Regions from separate parts of the Homo sapiens genome. Here region 2 is linked to region 1. Evidence: promoter capture Hi-C in human tissues and cell types (Jung and others, 2019). All regions are on one chromosome and are shown on one strand. The core of a region is centred on a gene start or on the middle of the fragment in contact, and the rest is flanking DNA. Distances in the headings are between cores, read along the strand shown.

Region 1 (5,732 bases), core at 1,665-4,164:
TCTGATGAAAATTTGTCTTCTATTCCTTATTTCCCTAATGTCTAGCACAGATCCTGGCATATTATAGCAGGAATTTAATAAATTCTTGTGAATAATTGAACAAAATCATAAGTTCTCAAGTGAATGAAAATTGGAAACAGTTGCTCTGCATAAAACAATAGTATTCAGGTCACTGGAAAGAAGTGCCCACCCCCACCACTGGAATCCCCACATTGACATCCTGCAGTATCTATCATTTTGTGAGTAGTTATTACAAGTTACCAAAGGACTGACCACCTCTGATGACACAATCAAAACCAGTTTCAGGACCTGCAAAGCTGAGGACAGACCCTGAATTCTGAGGATCTCACCGAAGTATGTTGAAACTATTAATATGAAACGGCTGTTTCTGTGGGTAAAAAGACCAAGCGTCAGCGATTCACATGGTCCTATCTTGTGAACAAAAGTTCTCTGAAAAGGAAGTTTGGAGAAAGGAGACTTTATTCTAGTGAACAGTTTGCAAACCAGGGAGACACAGCCTTCGGAGTAAAAGAAAGGTGATTCCAGAGAATAAAGGGGAGGGTTTGGCTTCTATAGAAAAAGTTCTTGTCCAGGTTTCCAATCAGATGTGTTTATGCAAAGGAAAGATTCAGACTTGCTCAGTTCAGATTGGGTAATACAGCTGAACCCTGATTGGATAAAGCAGATGAGTTCTGATCGGTTACATCAGGTGAGCCCTGATTGGTCAATTCGGGTAAATTGTGAAAATCCCAAAGGGGTGTGAGTTTTCTGGACACAGAGTAGTTGTGACCTACTTGGGACCTGACTTGAAGAATTGCTCTTACAGGTTTATTTTTGTTCATAATCTAAACATCTGCATCCTCTGAAGCTCTGTCTTGGTGGAGACCAACTCCCCAAATATTAAGAACATTTCTGTATTCTTACACTCTAACTGCTACAAAGCAGTACTTTCTTCTTTAATTTTTGGGGAGGGATGGGGAAGGTAGAACAGAAGTGGTTCTTGACCAAGGTCAACTTATGTTCAGAGCTGGTTCCTTCCGGTGGGTTCATGGTCTCGCTGACTTCAAGAATGAAGCCATGGACCTTCATGGTGAGTGTTACAGCTCTTAAAGGTGGCACAGACCTAAAGAGTGAGCAGCAGCAAGATTTATTGTAAAGAGTGAAAGAACTAAAGCTTCCACAGTGTGGAAGGGGACCCCAGTGGGTTGCCCTGCTGGCTGGGGTGGCCAGGTTTTATTCCCTTATATGTGCCCTCCCATGTTCCATTTTTGTCCTATCAGAGTGCCCTTTTTTCAATCCTCCCTGTGATTGGCTACTTTTAGGGTCCTGCTGATTGGTGCTTTTTACAGAGCACTGATTGGTGCATTTTACAATCCTCTTGCTAGCTACAGAGCACTGATTGGTGTGTTTTACAATCCTCTTGCCAGACAGAAAAGTTCTCCAAGTCCCCACTCTACCCAGGAAGTCTAGCTGGCTTCACATCTCAATGTTACTCCCTAATTTCTTACTCTTTTTAAAACAAAAACATTTTTCCCTCATGTTATAAAGGTACTGCAAATTCAATATGTCCTTATTTTTAAAAAAATTAAATGCAAAAAATAAAAATAAAAATTTTGAATACCTAAAGTCTACCTAGAGACATTTTAATACATTGACTTTTTAATACATTTAATACATTTTAATACATTATCTTTTTTCTTTGTATAATCTCTTGTAATTCATAACTTTGAATATACTGAATATACCTCTATACTTCATGTTTTTATTTCAAATTACCAGTATACTATTACATACTTCACACTTCATTTTTGTTGGCTGAAAATATTCTTCTCAGTGGATGAGCTATAAATCATTGTTTATTTAGGTTGTTTTAAATGTTTCTATTATAAACAATGTCATTAATAGCTTCATGTTTATATAATTTTATTTTTTAGGATAAATTTCCATAAGTGGAAATATACTGGCAAAAGAGAAGTGTTTTTTTGTTTTTTTTTTTTTGGAGACGGAGTCTCGCTCTGTCACTGGGCTGGAGTGCAGTGGCACGGTCTTGGCTCAATTCAAGCTCCGACTCTCTGGTTCAACTAATTCTCCTGCCTCAGCCTCCTGAGTAGCTGGGATTACAGGCATGCGCCACTCTGCCCAGCTAAGTTTTGTATTTTAGTAGCGACAGGGTTTCACCATGTTGGCCAGGATGGTCTTGATCTCCTGATCTCGTGATCCGCCTGCCTCAGCCTCCCAAAGTGCTGGGATTACAGGCGTGAGCCACAGCGCCCGGTCAGGAGAAGCTATTTTTAAAGACTTTGACACATATAAAGCAATATTTAAAATCAAAGAAAGTGTAATTTGTTTAACAATTTTTTTTTTACTTGAAGCGGTCTTTTATTTTATATTATGTCTTTTGCTGACTTTTACAAGCAAAGGATGAAGTCACTTCATTCTGTTTTGCTAGGGAGAGACTGTGTCATGCTTATTGGAAGACATAAGGGCTCATAATTAGATTTTGCTGGTTCCCTAGAGACAGTCCCGGGAACACACTTGCATAACCTTTGGTAATTGGAAATATATCTCATATTGGCCACGTGCACAATAATTCAGTGTGAATATGGCCAATAAACATGCCTTGTTTACAGGTCATTAGTTTGGACCTCTCTTCTCCTCAAATGCTAAGAAAGATCTGGTGAATTAAAATGCTTCCAGTCCATTTGCCTTGGCCTGTAGTGAAAGTCCTAATGAACAATGAAGGAGGTACCGGGCCTTAGGGACTCAGGGATGCGCTCAGGAGTTAAGGGCAAATTTTCCTAGGTTCTTTCCTAGGCAAGTAGATCCCGGGAGCGGTGGAGGGGCGGGACTCCACGTCTCCTAGGAACCGCTGCGCGCTCACTGATTGGCTGATCGCTGCTCAGCCGCCATTTTCAAATCCCCGGATGACGGCGGTGGCGGCTGCAGTCCGCTGACAGGCGCTTTCTGCCTGGCAGAGGCTGGCGGGCATCGTGCCCGTCCCTGCCGGTCTCCCGGGCACCCGGCCACCGCCCCACCCCCTCCTCCGTGCCATGGAGCCCGAGCTGGCGGCTCAGAAGCAGCCTCGACCGCGGAGGCGAAGCCGCCGGGCCTCTGGGCTCAGCACGGAGGGAGCGACGGGGCCTTCGGCCGACACCTCCGGGTCGGAGCTGGACGGGAGGTGAGTGTGGGGGAGGGGAGGGCCGAACGGGAGGTGAGTGTAGGGGAGCGGAGGGCCGAACGGGAGGTGAGTGTTGGAGAGGCAAGGGCCGGGGGGAGGGGAGGGCTGGCCGGGAGTTGGATGTGGGGGGCGGCGAGTGGGGGTGTTGGTGAGGGCCAGGGGGAGGCGAGGGCCGCTGGGAGGTGAGTGGGGGGTGGGGGAGGTGACCGCGGGGTTGGGGGGGGGGACGGGGGCCGCTGGAAGTGAGGGTGGCACAGGCTGGAGTGACAGTGTGCCTGGCCTTGGACCGAGGTCGGTCCTGAGACCCCAAACTGCGATTTTCCCTGCCTGTGGCAAAGGGGCGGGTTTATTGAGTCTCCTCGCCTCCTGACTGTTTCTCAGGGGAGACTTAGGAAAAACCACAATGGTTTTGTTCTGCACACCCAACTGGCTGTAGGCTGGCGTTCCCAAATGCCTTTGCTCAGACCGAAACTGTCATGGTGAGCACCACGAGAATGGGCTTCCATGTCCTGAGAAAGAAAAGACTAAGGGATAAGTTGACTTCGGGATATGTTATGAGATGCCTATTAGAGAGTTCATCACAACCATTTTCGTGTTTTTTCTTTTTACTTTTTGTGGAAGTATACATTGAAATGAGAGTGTATGACTCGTGTTTGGCTCAGTGAAATTTCACAAAGCGAAGCTCAGGGGATAGCTAGTGAATTAGGAGGAAGGGAACCAAGTGAGAACAGTATCCAGGAGGCCAAATGAAGAAAGAATTTCAAGAAGAGGACGTGGCGAGCTATGTCAGATGTTATTGATAGGTCAAATAAAATGAGGATTAAGTAAAATAAGATGAGGATTAAGCTAGATGAGGAATGAAAATTAAATTTGGTAATGAGAAGAGAGTATTGATCTTAGATGGTTTCCAAGAATGGTTACAATATCGAACTTAGAGTGTTTTGCAACAGGTTGAGAAGAGAATGTGCGATTTGTTCAGAAAATAATGTGAGTGCCAACACTAGGAATATGGAAATGGAAAAATACTCTTGTTACTATTTAAGATTTATAATCTAGTGGGGAAGAAAGATAAGTAGGTTAATAATTATTATAATATGTGATAAAAGTTATTATAGTGATATACACAGAATGCCGTAGATTAAAAGGAACACTTAATCCTGACTGGAGAGAATAGGAAATGATTTCCTATTGTAATCCCTGAGTCTTTAAGGACCAGTTTAGAGAGCAGATGTAAATGGATGATTTCAGGCAGAGAAGCATGTAGAAAGGCCCTGAAGCAAATGAGTCTGATGAGTTCTGGGTATATATTCTATTTTATTACTATATTAACAGTGATATTTGTATAGAGGAGAGGAAACCAATATGGGGAGAAGGAGGAGGTAGTCATGAGAGATGATGCTAAAGAGGTAAGCGCCACATCATGAAGAGACCTTGTATGCCTTGACAGAGTTTGGGTTTTATCTTCATGGTAATGGGGAAATACTGAAAGACTTTAAATGAGCCAATGGCATGACATATTTGCATTTTAAAAGATCAGTTTGCCTTCCATGAGAAAAATAAGCAACATTTTGGAGTCATCTCACTCTTCATATTTTATGAAAACTATTCCCCAAAAATGTGCACATATACATAAACATTTCAGGAGATTTGTGGACCCAGCTGTGTATACCAAATTAAAATTTCCAAGTTTAGCTGATGGATTGGTAGGAAATCAGTCTGCAGTAGTCTAAATGAAAAAATGATTGTTCGAATCTGATAGCTGGCAATGGGATTGGTGAAGAGAAGTTTCACTGCAACAGGAAGACAAGAAAGAATAGAGAGAAATAACACAATTTTGTGGGATAGACTCTTAAGAAAGAATAAATTCCCTTGATGTGCTGTGCTGAGTTAACAAATAGAGGGAGAGGTTGAACAGACAGTAGAGGAGAAAAATGGTTGAACAAGGATCCAAGAAGGCAGAAAAGGACAGAATCCAAATTCAAGGTAGAGGATTTAGCCTAACAAGAAGCTATGGATGATATATAGTTTTGAAGAATGGGGTGTGTTGTGAGCAGGAATTTGAGGACTTTCCCACCAGGCCTCTATTTTTTGTGTGAGGTAGGAAATGATACATTGTGAGAAAAGCGTAGTAACACAGGCAGCATGAGGAGAGTGAGACACAGTTAGAAGAACCATGGAGAGAAAATGGAGAATTAAATAACATATTCCTTTTCCAGAAAAGATGTAAGATCATCTACAAGAATACGTAAAATATTACAAGATAGTATTAATTGTGAGGCAAGAAGCAACTAAGCACTGTATCAGATTCAGAAATCATAAGGAAAAAGATTTGTGTGTATGATTATGTGACTATTGAAAAACGTTCTGCAGGCAAAACTCAGTATAAACTAATTTGAAAGACAAATACGTACAGTACAATTTACCCACTTAAATTGTACTACTTAGAACATTTTCATCACCTCAAAAAGAGCATTTGTACCCTTTAGCTATTGTTCCTCTCCTACCCCTTCTGCCCTAAAACCTAATCTGTCGGTCTGTAGGAATTTCTCTGTTC
Region 2 (5,732 bases), core at 1,174-3,673, 220 kb after region 1:
GGAGGGGTGAACCAGCCCAGATTGGAAATGGAGCAAGTCTAAACACCCATAATGATCAGTAGCGGGATCACTCCCGTGAATAGCCACTGCACTCCAGCCTGGGCAAGATAGTGAGGCCCTGTCTCTAAAAAAAAATTGAAAGATGATAGATAATAGATAATCAATGGATGGATAGATAAATGAATAGATAGATGACTGATGGATGGATAGGTAGATAGAGGGATAATAGATGATAGAGAGAAGGAATAGATGATGATAGATGAGAGAGAAAGAGAGGTAATATTAAAGCCATCATTTCTGGCCTTGCAGGGAACACTCTCTCAGCCGTGTTTCCTGACTGCACTGGGGAGGATTTGGGTCCAAGCTCCTCCTGTAATTTCCTGAGGTCCTGTGAAATGATCCTGCCCTAGGCAGCTGCGTTCCCAGAGGAGTGTCCACCTGGGAGCACGCCACAAGCCCAGAGGAACATTCTGATTTCCTAATGGAACCAGATGTCCCAGTTTGGGCAAAAGGGCCTCCCGGGAAAACAGAGTACTGCCAAGGACTCAGTCTGGCATGTCCCCAGAGGGAGAGAAACTGTCCCCACCCACCACTTACTTGGATGGAATTGCTCCCCGGCATGCAGAGGTATCACTGTGTGAGGTCAGCAACGATGCGTGGAGGCCTGTCTCGAGGCGACCTTCTGGTGGGGAGGACATTCTCTCCGGTTGTATTTTCATTCCACTCAGTGTTTCCGTGCAGAGTGGAGTGAGCGCCCCTCCTTGACCTCATGAAGCTGCTCAAGGGCAAAACTCTACCTGGGACTCGATTTGCTTAGAAACAAAATACGCAAAGGAAACACCAATTCAAGGTAGCCTGTTATTCACGGCCAAGAGAGAGACTTCTCTGACACTTTGGATCTTTCCCTCCATCAATCATTTACTTCAGTGCTTGGAATGTCAGGAGGAAAATAATGAGTCACACCTGGTCTGAGGCAACCAAGTCACTTGTCAGCACAGAGTGCCTGCAATCACAGCACTCGGTGACCAAGGCCCAGATGCTTGGCTGCAGCTGGAGGCATAACAAGAGGTGCCAGAGAGAAAGACCAGTGAGATACTTTACAGCCAAGATCTGCAAAGCACACATCCAGGGACTCCAGCTTAGGAAGCCTGGCTGTGAATGTTTGTTGAATGCAAAGGAACACATCGTTGTAGGCTGGCCTGGGAGCCCAACACAAAATAAGAATCAGTGCCCAGCTGGGCTTTCAGTTTACTTGTTATTAGAAATATTATTGGGCTTTATCAAGTCTTGACAACTCTATTGCCCTGTTTGAAAGTGACACAGAATTAATCCATGGGCTGTCAGATCATCTGAGGAACGGCCTTATAGACCAGGCCAGTTTTAGATTCAGCCTGCTGGATGTGGGAGCCACATGTGGTGGGACAAGCACAGGTTGGGGGCTGGATGTGGGAACTCAGTAGCACCCAGCCTCTTGAGTAATACTGCTCTCATCAATGCTGTATTTAACCAAAACTGCACCTAAATCGTATCTTACCTATATTTCTTGAATACAAGTTTATACTCCATGCTATTTTAGAAGCAGCAAGGGACCCCTCTGACACCAAAGAAGAAGGAAAAAAATCTAACAATTAGACTCTTTGAAGTCAGCTTGTGATGGATTTTTTTTCCTATGGCTCAGTCAAGTTTTATAAATGACCTATTTCTGTTCTGCCGCCCACAGATTCCTAGAGGCTCGTAGGCAAAATCCCACGCTCTCCGGATGGCCAAATCTTGCCTTTTATGATCAAAGTCTCTCCCAGGTCTTTGAAAATCATAAGCATAAGAAGGATTACAGTAAGCCCTGTTATACATGTAAAATTCCATGGAATTAAGTCTCACTCTCTTCTTCGTGCCTGGTAGAAAAAGTATGAAGGAAAAGAAAAGTCACTTCAACAAATCTTCTGTTTCTTCATCCTCATCCCAGAAGAGTGCTGCCATTAATCAAAGTCGTTATAAAGCTTTGTAAACCACAGAGCACCATGGGAATCAAAATGAAGTTGTTCTTTATGCTATGTAATTGACTTTATTAATCCAAGACTTTAGAAGGTCAGCAGTCATCCCTCTTCTGTCTTCTCCAGTGTCCTTGGCAGAGTTAAGAGTCAAGTTTGCTCATGCCTTGTCCTGGTCTGCTGAGGCTGCTAAAACAAATTCTATATGGCTGGGCACAGTGGCTCATGCCTGTAATCTCAACACTTCAGGAGGCTGAGGAGGGAGGAATCCTTGAGCCTAAGACCAGCCTGGGCAACATAATGAGAACTTGTCTCTACAAAAGTTAAAAAATTAGACAGATGTGGTGGCACACGTCTGTAGCCTCAGCTACTCAGGAGGCTGACGTGGGAGGATCACTTCAGCCTAGGAGATTGAGATCATGCCACTGCACTCCAGCCTGCGCAACAGAGCAAGACCCCGGCTCAAATAAAAGCAAACAAAACCTAAACACTGGTGGTTTTTAAACAACAGAAATCTATTTCTCAAAGTTCTAGAGGCTGAGAAGTCCAGGATCCCTGCCTGGTGATGACTGCTCTCTTCTCCATAGACAGCGACTTCTTTCTGTGTCCTCATCTGCCTGAAGGGGCAAGGCAGCTCTCTGGCACCTATTTTTATTTTTGACACAGAGTTTCACTCTTATTGTGCAGGCTGGAGTGCAGTGGCACGATCTCGGCTTACTACAACCTCTGCCTCCCAGCTTCAAGCGATTTTCCTGCCTCAGTCTCCCAAGTAGCTGGGATTACAGGCGCCCGCCACCATGCTTGGCTAATTGTGTATTTTTACTACAGACGGAGTCTCACCATATTGGTCAGGCTGGTCTCAAACTCCTGACATCAAGTGATCAGCCCACCCTGGCCTCCCAAAGTGCTGGGATTACAGGTGTGAGCCAGTGCACCAGGCCTGGCACCTCTTTTCTAAGGGCACTGGTCCCTTTCAAGAGAGCTCTGCCCTCATAGCTAATCAGCACCCAGAGGCTCCACATCCTAATACCATCACTGTGGGGGTGGGGATTTGAACACAGGAATCTGGGGAGAGACAGACATTCAGACCACAGCATCCCCCAGCTCACCACATGATGAGGTGCAACATCTGTTCCTATACCTGCTCCCTGAAAAACAGACTCTGAGATGCTCGGGGCCAAGATTTGCTTTTATGTGTTCTCATATCATTAGTGCCCAGCAGAGAACTTAAAATAGAACAACTGGTAAAAAAAGGAAAGAAGAAGATGGGTGGGCTTGGATGGGGAAGATGGGGAAGAGGACCAAGGAGCAAGAGGATGTCCCTGCTTCTCCTCTGGTCTTACCCTCTGTCCCCAGCACAGTGGAACAAGCTTCGGGATTTGGATTCACACCAAGAACGGAGGGACTTTTCTTTGTTGATCACTCAGAGTGCAGATGGTGAAGCTAAGTGCACATCCTGGCTCAGCGTCCAGTGGCAGATTCTCCCCAGCCATGAAGTCCGTGTGCACAACAACCGCACACCTGGAGGCCAGATGCTAGAGTGAAATTGTATTTGAACGAATAAATGTGTACACAGGTGCGTGAGAGAGAGAGAGACAGAGACAGGCAGAGAGGCCTATCATCCATCTTTTCTGCCTTTTTTCATGGTTTGGAGAAAAAGGAGGCACTCTTTAGATTGGACCAATTTAAGACATCTTTTCATTCAACTTGTCGGAGATCACAAGACCTTCAAGCCAAAATCACTGAGGCCTCGCTGTCACTGTCATGTGGTGCTAATGTGGAGAAAAGAGAAAAGGCAAAGACTCCAGGGTCTGGAAATATTTTCTCAGCCATTACAGGGGGCACAGCCCCTGCCAGGGCCCTGTGCGCCCCACCTTCATCTCTCCACGGCACAGCTGCTCGAAAGATGAGCAAGCTGTCCAGCTTTGTTCTCAGAGCCAGTCTTACGCTCGTTTTTCCGAATAAAGGAACTCAACTGCCTAGAAGAAACAGGTGTTGCCCACTGGAGAGAAAGCACAAGCAGTTTAACAAAGTGGCCCAGGGCATGAAATGGACAGGGAAAGGCATTCTTTTCATCCCAAATGACTTCAGAGCTCTCTGCAGACTCACCTGGTAGCACAGATGGGATACCACAGGGAGCATTGCTATGGTCCAGGAGTAGACGAGATTCCACTCCCTCCCTGGAAGACCACGGGGAGCCCAGAGCTGAGCAAGAGATCCCACTGGGGATCCCACTGGGGTCTCTTGCTGTCTCCCTCACGACGCCTCCCACCTGCAGAAGGTGGGCAGCACCCCGCCTCCACGGGCTGGGGACAGAGGGTGCAGCTGCATTTTCTTACTGTGAAATGGCCCCTCAATTATGACCTCTCCAAAGGGGAGGGTTTGATACCAGGGACTTTGCCCAGAGCCAGACCTAGAAGACGCACCATTGTCCAGGGAGGGAGCCATACCAGCGCAGCGAGGCCAATCAGTGAGAGGCATTTTACCCAGCACTTTCCTACAGAGGAGATGAGGGTCGGCTCTGTGAGACAAACCTCAGGACACAGGGCTTTGCATACCTAGTTTGTCTGAGAGTAGTTCCAAAAAAAGTGTCAACACCCACTGTGGAATACAAGCTCCTATAACCAAAACCATGCCGTTGTGGCCAACAGGAATCTGAAAGGTGTTTGTAAGCACAACCGAGTTTCTAATTTTTTGGTTTTTTTGCCCTTCGTTGTTCCTCTATGCATTCAATTTTTATTATGAAAAAATCAAACATCAAAACACATGGAGAGTAACCCCATGTTTCTATTTGCCCCCCAACATGAGCAAATAGTAGCATTCTATCATGTGCTTCGTATCTTTTTTTTTTTTTTTTTTTTTTTAGAGATAGGGTCTCACTATGTTGCCGAGGCTGGTCTCGAACTTCTGAGCTCAAGCAATCCTCCCGCCTCAGCCTCCCAAAGTGCTGGGATTACAGGCGTGAGCCACTCTTCCTGGCCAACATCACTTTTTAAGAAATGCAATACAACAGAGGTGAAGTTCCCTGCGTTCCTATCCCCAAGCCACTGGTATCCCCATGATGCCAGTGTGTGGTTTCCATGATTTTATGTATTTACTGCATACGTATGAATTATTAGATGGGCTTTTTAAAAAAATTATACAAATTGACTCATACCATACACAGAAAAGTCTGGCAATTGTTTGATCGACCACTATATTTTTGAGATCTATTCGTGTTAAAACGTGTAGTTCTAATCCATCTTAACTTTTATCGAGTGTAGGTATGACATGTAAGATGTATATGATATTCTACATCTTACTCCCAACTGGTGGGGTTTTCACTATTACAGGTATCGCTGCAGTAAACAACCTCATACATGTCTCCTTGTGATATTGCCTGAGAGTTTCTTTAGGGTATTATTTATATAAAGTAGAATTACTGGGGACAAGGGGTATGCACATTTTTCATTGCATTAATATCAGCCAATAGCTCTCCAAAACAGACCTATCATCAATGTATTCCCCACTAGCAGCCTGTGCATTTCCATTTGCCCACATGGCCCACCCATCCACACTGTGAAACTCAGACCTTTCAATGACTGTCTCAATGGCGACATTCAATGGTAATCACTTTGTTGAATTAAATATTAATTTGAATTTCCCTGATCACTTCTCAGCATCCTTTCCTGGGAGTGGACATTTCAAGATCCCTCTTTTATAAAGCCCTGTTCTTATTCTTTGCCCAGTTTTTTTCTATTGGGT

What was found. Contacts are between HindIII fragments. The study calls those that stand out against the background at their distance.
Region 2: a contact is called between a fragment that was not itself captured here and the fragment with the promoter of NET1 in region 1, in 3 of the 25 tissues and cell types used here (adrenal gland, hippocampus and thymus).

Annotation. Positions count from the first base shown.
Region 1 is chr10:5,409,643-5,415,374 of GRCh38, forward strand. It overlaps NET1 (neuroepithelial cell transforming 1), which reads left to right and starts at 2,915. Exons shown (of 12, transcript NM_001047160.3): 1 at 2,915-3,178. The coding sequence starts at 3,051. RefSeq lists a silencer at 2,827-3,256. The HindIII fragment of the contact is 9,279 bases long and covers 1-5,732 here.
Region 2 is chr10:5,631,630-5,637,361 of GRCh38, forward strand. It overlaps LOC107984199 (a long non-coding RNA gene), which reads right to left and starts at 1,396. Exons shown (of 2, transcript XR_001747344.2): 1 at 598-1,396. It also overlaps the pseudogene RN7SL445P. The HindIII fragment of the contact is 4,294 bases long and covers 277-4,570 here.